3 separate regions of the Homo sapiens genome follow, and all the other regions are linked to region 3. Evidence: promoter capture Hi-C in 16 types of primary human blood cells and fetal thymus (Javierre and others, 2016). All regions are on one chromosome and are shown on one strand. The core of a region is centred on a gene start or on the middle of the fragment in contact, and the rest is flanking DNA. Distances in the headings are between cores, read along the strand shown. Region 1 overlaps LOC107985664 (a long non-coding RNA gene). Region 2 overlaps LOC107985664 (a long non-coding RNA gene). Region 3 holds the start of NEXMIF (neurite extension and migration factor).

The links. The method cuts DNA at HindIII sites, captures the fragments that hold promoters and counts their contacts. A CHiCAGO score of 5 or more calls a contact.
Region 1: a contact is called between a fragment that was not itself captured here and the fragment with the promoter of NEXMIF in region 3, in 3 of 17 cell types (erythroblasts, total CD4 T cells and endothelial precursors). The highest score is 7.1, in erythroblasts.
Region 2: a fragment that was not itself captured here is called in contact with the fragment with the promoter of NEXMIF in region 3 in 1 of 17 cell types (erythroblasts); the score reaches 5.3 in erythroblasts.

The regions. Positions count from the first base shown.
Region 1 is chrX:75,624,067-75,627,618 of GRCh38, reverse strand. LOC107985664 (a long non-coding RNA gene) reads right to left here. Exons shown (of 5, transcript XR_007068273.1): 3 at 2,731-2,918. Among named protein-coding and RNA genes, the nearest start is that of ZDHHC15, 100 kb to the right of the region's middle. The HindIII fragment of the contact is 824 bases long and covers 1,696-2,519 here.
Region 2 is chrX:75,601,541-75,605,497 of GRCh38, reverse strand. It overlaps LOC107985664 (a long non-coding RNA gene), which reads right to left. Exons shown (of 5, transcript XR_007068273.1): 2 at 476-580. Among named protein-coding and RNA genes, the nearest start is that of ZDHHC15, 80 kb to the right of the region's middle. The HindIII fragment of the contact is 4,979 bases long and covers 1-3,957 here.
Region 3 is chrX:74,923,826-74,927,760 of GRCh38, reverse strand. It overlaps NEXMIF (neurite extension and migration factor), which reads left to right and starts at 2,309. Exons shown (of 4, transcript NM_001008537.3): 1 at 2,309-2,878. RefSeq lists a silencer at 3,271-3,430. The HindIII fragment of the contact is 8,655 bases long and covers 1-3,824 here.

The DNA.
Region 1 (3,552 bases), core at 858-3,357, 700 kb before region 3:
ATCCCCATCAAAATAAAACCATCATTCTTCACAGAGCTAGAAAAAACAATTCTGAAATTCATATGGAACCAAAAAATAGCCCACACAGCCAAAGCAAGATTAAGCAAAAAGAGTAAATCTAGAGGCGTCACACTACCTGGTTTCAAATTATAATATAAGGCCGTAGTACCAAAACAGTATAGCACTGGTATAAAAATAGGCACATAGACCAATGGAACAGAAGAGAGAACAAAGAAATAAACCCAAATACTTATAGCCAACTGATGTTTGACAAAGGAAACAAAAATATAAGGACGCCCTTTTCAACTAATGGTGCTGGGATACTTGGCTAGCCACATGTAGGAGAATGAAACTGCATCCTTATCTATCACCTTATAGAAAAATCAACTCAAGATGGATTAAGAACTTAAACCTAAGACCTGAAGCTATAAATATTTTAGAAGATAACACTGGAAAAACCTTTCTAGGTATTGGCTTAAGCAAGGATTTCATGACCAGGAATCCAAAGGAAATGCAATAAAAACAAAGATAAATAGTTGGGACCTAATTAAACTAAAGAGCTTTTGCACAGCAAAAGGAACAGTCAGCAGAGTAAACAAACAGCCCACAAAGTGGGAGGAAATCTTCACAATCTATACATCTGACAAAGGCCCAATATCCAGAATCTACAATGAAGTCAAACAAATCAGCAAGAAAAAAACAAACGATCTCATCAAAAAGTGGGCTAAGGACATGAATAGATAATAATCAAAAGAAGATATACTAATGGCCACCAAACATATAAAAAATGCTCAACATCACTGAAGATCAGGGAAATGCAAATCAAAACCACAATGTGATACCACTTTACTCCTGCAAGAATGGCCATAATCAAAAAATAAAAAAAAGAGTAGATGTTGGCATTGATATAGTGATCAAGGAACACTTCTACACTGCTGGTGGGAATGTCAACTAGTACAGTCACTATGGAAAACAGTGTGAAGATTCCTTATAGAACAAAAAGTAGAACTACCATTTGATCCAGCAATCCCACTACTGGGTATCTACCCAGAGGAAAATAAGTCATTATTCGAAAAAGATACTTGCACACCCATGTTTATAGCAGCACAATTCTCAATTGTAAAATCGTGGAAACAACCCCAATGCCCATCAATCAATGAGTGGATAAAGAAAATTGTGGCATATATATATAATACTCAGCCATAAATAGGAATGAATTATGAATTAACAGCATTTGCAGTGACCTGGATGAGATTAGAGACTATAGTTCTAAGTGAAGTAACTCAGGATTAAAAAACCAAACATCATACATTCTCACTGATATGTGGGAGCTAAGCTATGAGGACGCAAAGGTATAAGAATGATGCCATGGACTTTGGGGACTTAGGGGAAGGGTGGGAATGGTGTGAGGGATAAAAGACTACAAATATGGTGCAGTGTATACTGCTCCAGTGATGGGTGCACCAAAATCTCACAAATCACCACTAAAGAACTTACTCATGTAACCAAACAAGACCTGTACCCCAATAACATATAAAAAAAAATTAAAAAATTAAAATTAATAAAACAAAACAAACAATAAAACAAAAACAAAAAAGCAAAAAGAGAAACAAAACAAAACAAAAAGCCTAACACGGTCATGTAACAAACAGAACACTTGTTTGGAAAAAATGTAGAAATTTTATGAAATAAGCTTCAAGTTCTACCAAGGAAAACAGGAATATAGTAATACAAAGTGTTGTTTCTCCCATACCTATCCCCCGTCGTTCCCCTTCTTGTTAATGGCACCAATACCTTTCAGCATTGACTGTGAAATCACTCTCACCATCTCACAATCCAGTAAGAAAATCATATAGACCATAAGTCTGTAATGTCTCACTGGCTAATACTTCCACATTATCATGTCTTACCTAGAATTTTAAAAAGTATTTCACCTACTTAGCACTTCTTACTCCCTCCAATGCATCTTTTAAAATATATCATTCTCAAACTGATATTTTTAAACCACAGATCTAAGTTATAATGTATCTTTCACTCTCTTGCCCACAACCCTTTGACAAAGAGATAAAGCAGAAAATATCTCTGCTGAGCACACATTGGCCACCAGGTTCTGATTCCCATCTATTCTTTCAAGCACAAAACACAGCTCCACACCATTCATGCTCCTTATGAATGACTATGACTTATTTCCCTGAAAACGGCCCCTGAGTCACACAATGAAGCCTCTGATTGGAAATTCTCTTACTCCACTCAATTATCATGTGATTAACATGGCCTATCTTCTTTCCTACTATGACATCAGAATTCATTTTCTTGAGCTTTAGTGCTTTTTGTGGCCTTTGTATAGATTCTTCCCTGGTGCCCCAGGTTCTGGCACATAGAAGCTGGACATTTATCCCTGCAGTCTCTGAGAGATAAGAATGTAGGAGGCAGCAAGTCCTGGGTGAGAGAGGAAGCTGGATTAAGTACCACTAGGAATAAATGCAGAGGGAAAAGCAGATCACTGGCTGGGAGAAGCTTTTGGTCTTCCTAGAGATATGTGAACAATCACTCTTTTACAGACATAAGAATGAATATTATCTCTTTTCCAGGTACCTTACCCTCACTAAACTTGGTTGGGGGAAGTCTTCACATTGCAACATACACAGTTTTGGTCTTTTTAGAGATATGTGAACAATCATTCTTTTACAAACATAAGAATGAATATGATCACTTTTCCTGGCACCTTACCCTCACTAAACTCGGTGGAGAGAAGTCCTCCCATTGCAACACACACAGAAGATGTAGTCTCCATCCGACTCTCTTAGTCTGACATTGAGGGTCTGGCTTCAGACAGAATGACAGTTTTGCCCCAGAGACCTTGCATATGGAAGAGCTGTATGTGGTAATTAAACTTCTTCCTCCACTCCCTCCAGCATCTGTGACAACAAACAAGAGGATAGATATATTAGACCACAAAGCTTCACAAAGAAAAATGTTTGTACATGTCTGTACATCTGACATCCGACACCCCTCATAATGAACCTGTCTTATGGGTTCTGCCACACAACCAGGCCTGATTATAAACCACAGCCTGACCAGCACCAACAATGGCAGAGGCATGAACCCCAATTATGCTGCCAGGGCTATACCACTCTATACCCCAGCTCCACCACTGGGGTCTGTATGGTATGGAAGCATGGAAGCCCCAACACCCAACATAAAGATTCATCAATTTCCTTCAACACCCAGACTGAACATAAGCACTGTAGCCCCACCCAATCTTTATTTGAAATGGTTTCTGCACCTTGTCTTTTATACACAACCTTGATCAGATCCAGCTGTTTCCTGAATACGACAATAGCCAGGATAAAGTCCTGAAACCTGACTCTGCATCTGTCTCAATTCAAAACAGGAAGATGTAACTAGTCCTGTAAGTAATTGGCTCCTGTCCCTGTAATATATCACGTTCAGTTGTAATCCCCAATGATGGAGGTGGGAAGGTGACTAGATCATGGGGGTAGATTTCTCACAGTGGTTTAGCACCATCACCTTGGTGCTGTTCTCATGATA
Region 2 (3,957 bases), core at 1,002-3,501, 680 kb before region 3:
AAGATGTGTTCATGGATTTCAAAGTATTTCAAATGGATTTCAGGTATCTCAGAGCTCATCTGGCTCTACCCCCTTAATAAAGGTGAGAAACCAGACATCAGACATATTAAGCAATATTCCCCATGCCAGTAAGATACTTAATGATAAACTTCAACTCCTTTCTAGAAGGAGCTTTTCACAACTCCTGTTCTAGAATTCTTTCTAGTCTACATGCTGGTTCTGGATTACCCCCCAATGAATACAACAATGTACCTACAGTCAACAATACTGTATCGTACACTTAAAAATGTATGACAAGTATAGATCACATGTAAAAATAACATAAAATTAATAAAGTAAAAAAATGTCCATTAGTGATGGGGTTACCAGATTGAGAGGACTTAGATTCAGGAAAGATGGAGAAGAAAGAAGGAAATAGTGAAAACAGGAAAAAATAAAAAAGGAAGTGGGGAGGGCAATCCCACTTGCTACTCACCTGTGTCCTAGAACTGTTACCTCTTAGGAAATTTTCAGGCAGGGTCAGAAGCCATCAGTCGTTTGAGTAACAAGATGATAAAATCTGTGCATGAACACATTCAATCTGCAAGAAATATATTGACAAAATTGTAACTAGTCATTATTTACTTTAATTGTTCCATGCCAAAATAATTAGAGATTGAAAGCAGAACAAAAGTCACAGTAGACCTACCCCATTATACTCTTTTCATTTACACTTTCAATTTAATTCCCATGATGTGTAGCTCATGGCTGCCTGCCATTCCTGGCTTCTTGAGGCTAGTGCCAAAAGATAGGCCAGTCTCCCTTGAAAGTGTATAAGGGAGGACCGCGCACTGAATTGACACACTCAGTGTGTGTTTAAGGTTGAGACTAAAGACTTTTGGTTGAGAATTATGGCTATCCCCTGGAAAAGTAAGGGCAGCCCTGAGGACTAAGACATCCAGGCTTCTACATGATAGGGGTGGTGCTTTGCACAACTGGGACTGGATCTTGACTTGGCATCTTCTTGTGCTTTCACATCCTAACAAGGCTTCAACTGGAAGGCAACTATCCTGGCCTTGAAGGATAGGCAAAGGATGACAAAGAGGGGCAGTTCATAAATTCAGTAGTTCCTGCCATAGACCACCTATGAAAAGTAACCCTCAAAACTCATTAAGGTGTTATTCTTAGTCCATGGCATTGTAGATATGGCAAAGCTGAAGGCAGTTTCTTGAAAGAAGATACTATTTTTATACCTGACATTTATATGAATTAGCCTCACAAGGCAAAAAAAAGACACCAGGTCCACCCTCCACAGCCTCTCCTAATAAGCAGACTTTACCAGTGTATTTCTGGTGAGAGTGTACCTGGTCATCTATATCAATTTTGACAAAGAAGAAAAACTGTCTCAGCAATGTGATCTTTGCAATTGGTCTTTTTTAAGCCCTCATCAAGAAATCTTGTCTAGCAGATTGTGATACTGTCATATAGACACTAGGGGCACTGTTGCCTAAGAAATACAGATACTGGCAGACCAGCCCTAGGGAAAATTTCTGCAAAGAAAACTCTTTCTGCAGAAAGAAATGTAGTGGTCATTTCAAACAGAAATTACAGAAATGGGAGGGTATTTCTTCTATCTTTTTGTACTATGTTCCTCTCTCTGTCCTCTCATTTTCTCAGAATTAGAAATCCTCCTTTCTCGACATACACATGCATACACATACAAACACACACAAACACACACACACACACACTTCAGTCAAATCCTGGAAAACCTATCTTCACTGGCACATCTAAATGCTAATCCCTTTTATCTACTTGCTCTCAGTGCTCGCTAGTTCTTTTTTACCCTGTTTTGATCTCTCTGGCCCCTGAATCTAGATTTCTTCTTCTCAGTGCTTCCAAATGTCTCTATCTAAAACTCAAATTTAATCTCTTAGCATTTCCCTGCATAGAAACCTCGAATAATACAGGATGCTCCATCTCATACATCAAGGGCTGGCAAAATATTTCTGCAAAGGGCCAAATAGTAGTTATCTTAGCCTCTGTGGGCCATATGGTCTCTACTGCAACAATTCAATTCTGCAGTCATCACACAAAAGCAGCCACAGACAATACATAAGTGAATGGATGGCTGTATTCCAATAAATTTTTATTTACAAAAACTGGTAATAGGCTAGCTTTGACCAGCTGCCTGTAGTTTCCTTGACTTAGTATTATCAAGCATAGCCTCCCTTCAGCGAAACTTGCTCCCTATTCCTGGTTTTTGATATTTCTCTAGCATGAAGACAAGACATCCTCATTCCACATACCCATGAACTAATTCATATAGAAAGCCTGCTCTGTTTATCCCAGCAGTCCATCAGCCCCACTCACTTTCTGACTCTGAAATATGCAAGCATAGAGTTCCATAGTAGGATAAACTAGTAGGAATACTCACCAAGCACCACATAAAATACTTACAATAGAGGCAGAGATATGAGGACTACTAAGAGATTTCCTACCAAGTCACTGTGAGGGCAGTGTTAATGAGACAGGAGTATTTAATCATAGGCAAAATAACAATAATAGTAGGTAACACAGAAAGAAGAAATGATTGAAGGGAAGTAGTAAAGGCAGAGAAAGCTACTAGGAGATTTTCTGTTTCTACTCACCTTCGTTCAAGGATCTTTGGCCTCTTATGAGGTAGCAAAGCATAATATTGAAGAGCCTTGGCCACGGAGTCAGGCTACCTAAGTTCTCAATATTGGCTCAATCACTTACTTTCTATATGAATTGTAGGCAAGTCTGTGTCTTAATTACTACATCTCCAAACAGGGAATGATAATGGTATAACCTCTGAGAGTTTTTAACATGATTAAACAAACGGTGCACAGAAAGCAGTTAAAGCAGGGCCTCAGCCAAGATGGCCAAATAGGAACAGCTACCAACATGAGAAACACAAAAAACAAATGATTTCTGCATTTCCAACTGAGGTACCAGGATCATCTCACTGCGGATTGTCAGAAAGTGGGTGTAGGACAATGGGTGTAGCACAGTGAGTGTGAGCCGAAGCAGGGAGAGGCATCGCTTCACCTGGGAAGTGCAAGGGGTCAGGGAATTCTCTTTCCTAGCCAAGGAAAGGGGTGACAGACGGCACCTGGAAAATCGGGTCACTTCCACCCAAATACTGCGCTTTTCTCACAGTCTTACCAAATGGCACATCAGGAGATTATATCCCGTGCCTGGCTCGGAGGGTCCCACGCCCACGGAGCCTCACTCATTGCTGGCACAGCAGTCTGAGATCAAACTGCAAGGCCGCAGCGAGGCTGGGGGAGGGGCGCCCGCCATTGCCAAGGCTTGAGTAGGTAAACAAAGTGGCCAGGAAGATCGAACTGGGTGGAGCCCACCCCAGGTCAAGGAGGCCTGCCTGCCTCTGTAGACTCCACCTCTGGGGGCAGGGCATAGCCAAACAAAAGGCAGCACAAGCCTCTGCAGACTTAAATGTCCCTGTCTGACAGCTTTGAAGACAGTAATCGTTCTCCCAGCATGCAGCTGGAGATCTGAGAACGGACAGACTGCCTCCTCAAGTGGGTCCCTGACCCCCGAGTAGCCTAACTGGGAGCCACCAACCAGTAGGGGCAGACTGACACCTCACAAGGCCAGGTACTCCTCTGAGACAAAACATCCAGATGAAGAATCAGGCAGCAACCTTTGCGGTTCACCAATATGAGCTGTTCTGCAGGCTCCGCTGAGGATATCCAGGCAAACAGGGTCTGAAATGGACTTCCGGCAAACTCCAACAAACCTGCAGCTGAGGGTCCTCACTGTTAGAAGAAAAACTAACAAACAGAAAGGACATCCCCACCAAAACCCCATCTGTACGTCACCATCATCAAAGACCAAAGGTAAATAAAACCACAACGATGGGGAAAAAACAGAGGAAAAAAAATGAAAATTCTAAAAATCAGAGTGCCTCTCCTCCTCCAAAGGAATGCAGCT
Region 3 (3,935 bases), core at 1,060-3,559:
AGATGAAGGTGTCAGTAGGTCTGGTTTCTCCTGAGATCACCATCTCCTTGGCTTGCAGATGGCCTTTTTGTGTTGTCTGTGTCCTAATTTTCTCCTCTTATAAGGACCTCAGTCATATTAGATTAGGGCCCATTCTCAAGGCCTTATTTTAACTTAGTATCCTCTGCAAAGGCCCTATCTCCAAGCAGTCACATTCTGGGGTACTGGGAATAGTCAGAGCTTCAACATATGAATTTTTGGGGAAATGCAAATCAGCCCATAACACCCATGGTGTGTGTTCTCCCTCACTCTAACAAGTAGTAAACCCAAATTGTTCAACTACAGTTGTGTTTCTGGTAGTTTTTGGCTGGAGGGCATTGACAAAAATTATAACTGGTAACAAATAAGCAACTAACTTTATAAAGGAAGAATAGCATATGTAGTTAATACAGGTGAAAACAATGTGCTTTCCGACAACGGAAAAAGAGCAATTCATTCTGGATATTGAGATCCAGCCAATAGATGGGTGGCATTTTACATGTTTAACCTTTTTTGTTTGTTTGTTTTTGCTTTTGAGAACAGAGGCCAAATTTTGTCTTCTTATTTATTCCAGTGCCTGAAAGATGCAAATATATTTGCACAGTGTCTCACAAATGCAAGATAAATAACATATCATCCCTATCCTCAGGACACATATACCTAACTTCCTTGTGACTCGATTTTCTCATTTGTAAAATGGAGATAGTAAAATTGTGTTTGTTGTGAAGATTAAATAATTCATGTAAATTGCTTAGCACAGTGTCTGGCACATAGTAAGGACCCAATAAGTATAATTATTTCAGGATGAGCTATTATTTATGGATGAGTTTCATAGATATAAAATGAGAGGGAGAAATAACAAGAGTGTTTCAAGCAAGTGGGATGACAGAAACAAAGGCACAGAGATGGGGAGTTGTAAAAGCCATACAGACAGTTTATTGTCCAGGAATGAAAGACCCATGGTAGAGCGCCTCAAACTTGGTAAAGTGACCCAGACCTTATTGTCAATGGGATATCTGGAACATTTATCTCCTGTACTTTGCCAGGGAAAAGAAAATATACCCCCGCCTCTGCACTGTTTCTGGGGAGGGATTGTGTGACAGGTGATGGTGAGAAGTTGCACACATCAGATCTCAAAGCCTGAGCCCTCGTAGCAAAATGACGCTGTAGCTGTGGCAGCAAAGAAATCTGAAATGAGGCCCTGCCTGACTGGAGAAGCTGTGCTTTGGCAATGATGTTGGAGCAAGTGCACACAAAGTAGCTACTTTTACCCCTTCTGTTCTAGTACCAACCTTTTCATCTCTTGCCTTGGCTCCTAGTGGTGACAAATCTCCCGAGGCTCAGGCCTCAACCTTGCACCCAGGACTCCAGAAGTACTAAATGGTCCCTCCTGAGTTGCTCTCCAATCGTTTTGCTGTTTCCTGTTGAGTTCCCAGGACGTCTGAAGGAAAATGACCACCTAAGAGATTTTTCAATGACAGCCATCAGGCAGATCTGTTTTCCTTCCTGGCCATATTCAGCTTCCCTTCTTTCCTTTATTCCCCAAACGTCACTCCCCAATTGTCTGCCTTCATCCAACCCTTCAAAAAGGACCCACCTTCCTGGGGGCCCAGGCCCTTAAGTTAAGAGTAGGTAAAGGTTGAATGGTTAGATGCTTGGTGGATGAAACCATTCAAATATTCTTCCCCAAACTTCAGAGTGCCCCTCTCCGCACACACAACTGCCCTAAAAGGCATGGGAGAGTGGTGTCCGGTTGCGTGTCTGCCAGGGGAAGAACGCACCACTGGCGTAGTGGACTGGAAGGGCAGCAGGAACGCGAGTGGGGGGCGGGGTGGGAATGGGGAAGGGGGGTGCGCGCCCTTTATGACAGGTGGCCGCGCAGTGCGCGCTCCCGGGCGCCCGAGGGGAGGGAAGGACAGACGGACAGAGTTGGGGGGGCACATAAGGAAGGGACCATAGAGAGGGTAAGGAGAGCGGGAGGGAAAGGGAGAGCTGTGGTGGGGAAGAAGGGTAGAGGGGGGAAGGCGTCCAGCAAGAACAGCCGTGTTGGAGGAAACAATGGCAGGGGCAACAGCGATGGTGGCAGCAGAGGCGGCCCCACTCTGGGCACCTTTCTGAATGGGCAGAGACAGCTCCGGGAGAAGAGGGGACCAGGCAGTGCCTGCAGAGGCTCTGAGAAAAGCGGCAGAGGGAGGAGAAGAGGGAGGAGGAAGAGAAGGAGGAGGAGGAGTAGGAGGAGGAGGAGGAAGGGGGAGGAGGGGGGACGAGGCAGGGGAAGAACCTGGGAAGGAAAACCAGTAGCATCAGCAGCAGCAGCAGCAGCCGCCGCCGCCACCACCGCCGCCACAGCAGTAGCATTAGCGGCAGTAGCAGCATTTAGCAATAGCTTTAACAGCTATAGCGACAGTAGCAGCCGCCCTCCTCTCTCCCTCTCGCGGACGGCCGCAGCCACCGCACAGAGCGGGCTCCAGGCGCCGAGCGCGCAGCCCGCTCGCTAGGTAGCTCCAGCCGGGGCGAGCGACAGTGTAAGCGAAGCACGGACCCTTGGAGCAGCCGGGCAGCCGCGGAGGCTCTGAGTTTCAGGGCCAGAGCCCGACAGCTCTGACTCCATCTAGCGCGGCGGCGGCGGAGCCTGAGGGAGCGAGCGAGGAGAGAGGCGCGTCCACCTGGCGGGCCCAGCGTATGGAGCTGAGGCAGAGGCGGCGGCGGCGGCGGCAGCAGTAGCAGCGGCGGTGGCGGCTAAGGCAGCTCGAACAGCTGCGGCGACGGCGACAGCCCAGCCTTGACTGCGACCGCGCTAGCTACAGCGCCTGCTGCCTGAGCCCGCCAGCGACGTGCGCCTCGGGAGTCGGCCTGTGAGGTGAGTAGGAGCGCTGCCATACAGCTTCCTGGCCTTCTCGCCGGCTCCCCGGCTGGCTCGGGGTGGCGGCCGCAGGGGGTGGAATGAACTGGGGTAAGTCGAGCTAGACGAGAAGGAAGGGAAAACGGAACGGAGGACGTCTGTATGCGAATGTGTGTGTCTGTGTATGAGGGAGCGAGGCCGCTAGGGCGAGAGATCCCGGCTCGCCCTGACAGGCACTGCAATCTAGGAAAGGCCTCTGTGCTTGCGCCGTAGGAAGGGGGTTGCGGGGGGAGGGGAAGCGAGCGGACCGGAGCCGCCGCGCTTACACGCACGCAGCTCGGCAGAGTGCCGCCTCCTTTCGGACTGGTGCAGGGTAGAGCCTGGCCAGGGAATGGGGCATGGGCATGGCACGCTTCGGCGAGAGCGGGAAAACCCACGCGGCGGCCGAGGCCGGGCGCTCGGACCAAAGCCGCAAAGGTGCGAAGCCGGGCGGCCGTGGCGACCACAGAGCGCCCCCAGGACACGCGCCACTCGGCCGAGGCTGCGGACAGGTTTAAGTTGGAGGCCAGACCGAGCCTCGCCCAGCTCATCTCCTTTGCGGAAATTGGCTTGTGGCCCCTTCGCGCTCTCGGTGGCGGTCGAATTGACGCTTTTCTGTGTGGCTTCTGGCGCTTCTCTCTGCCGCGCCCCGCAGCACACGTCGGCTCGCGTCTTGTACACCCTGTAGGGCGGGAAGGCCGTGAGCCGGCGCGGGGAGCGGAGTCCCGCTCCGGGAAAGTGTGGAAACCGCGCTGCTGAGTTGGCGCCGTTCCGCTGAGGAATTCAGCGATTTCAGCATGACTGCTTCTGTCTGTCTGATTCGTGAGGGACCGAATCACCCGCGCAAGGTTTTCTGTCTTTTTCGAAGTTAAAAAAAAATTGGCATCCCCATTTCGACAACAGCACTCTTGATTTTTATCAAGCTTCTGGTTGCATTTTGGAATAAGTGGGTCTCATATTTTGCTTCTGGATCTTGGCTCCCAGCATATTGTTGAATGCTGTGCACAGCACTACATTTAGATATGTGGCCTTTTTC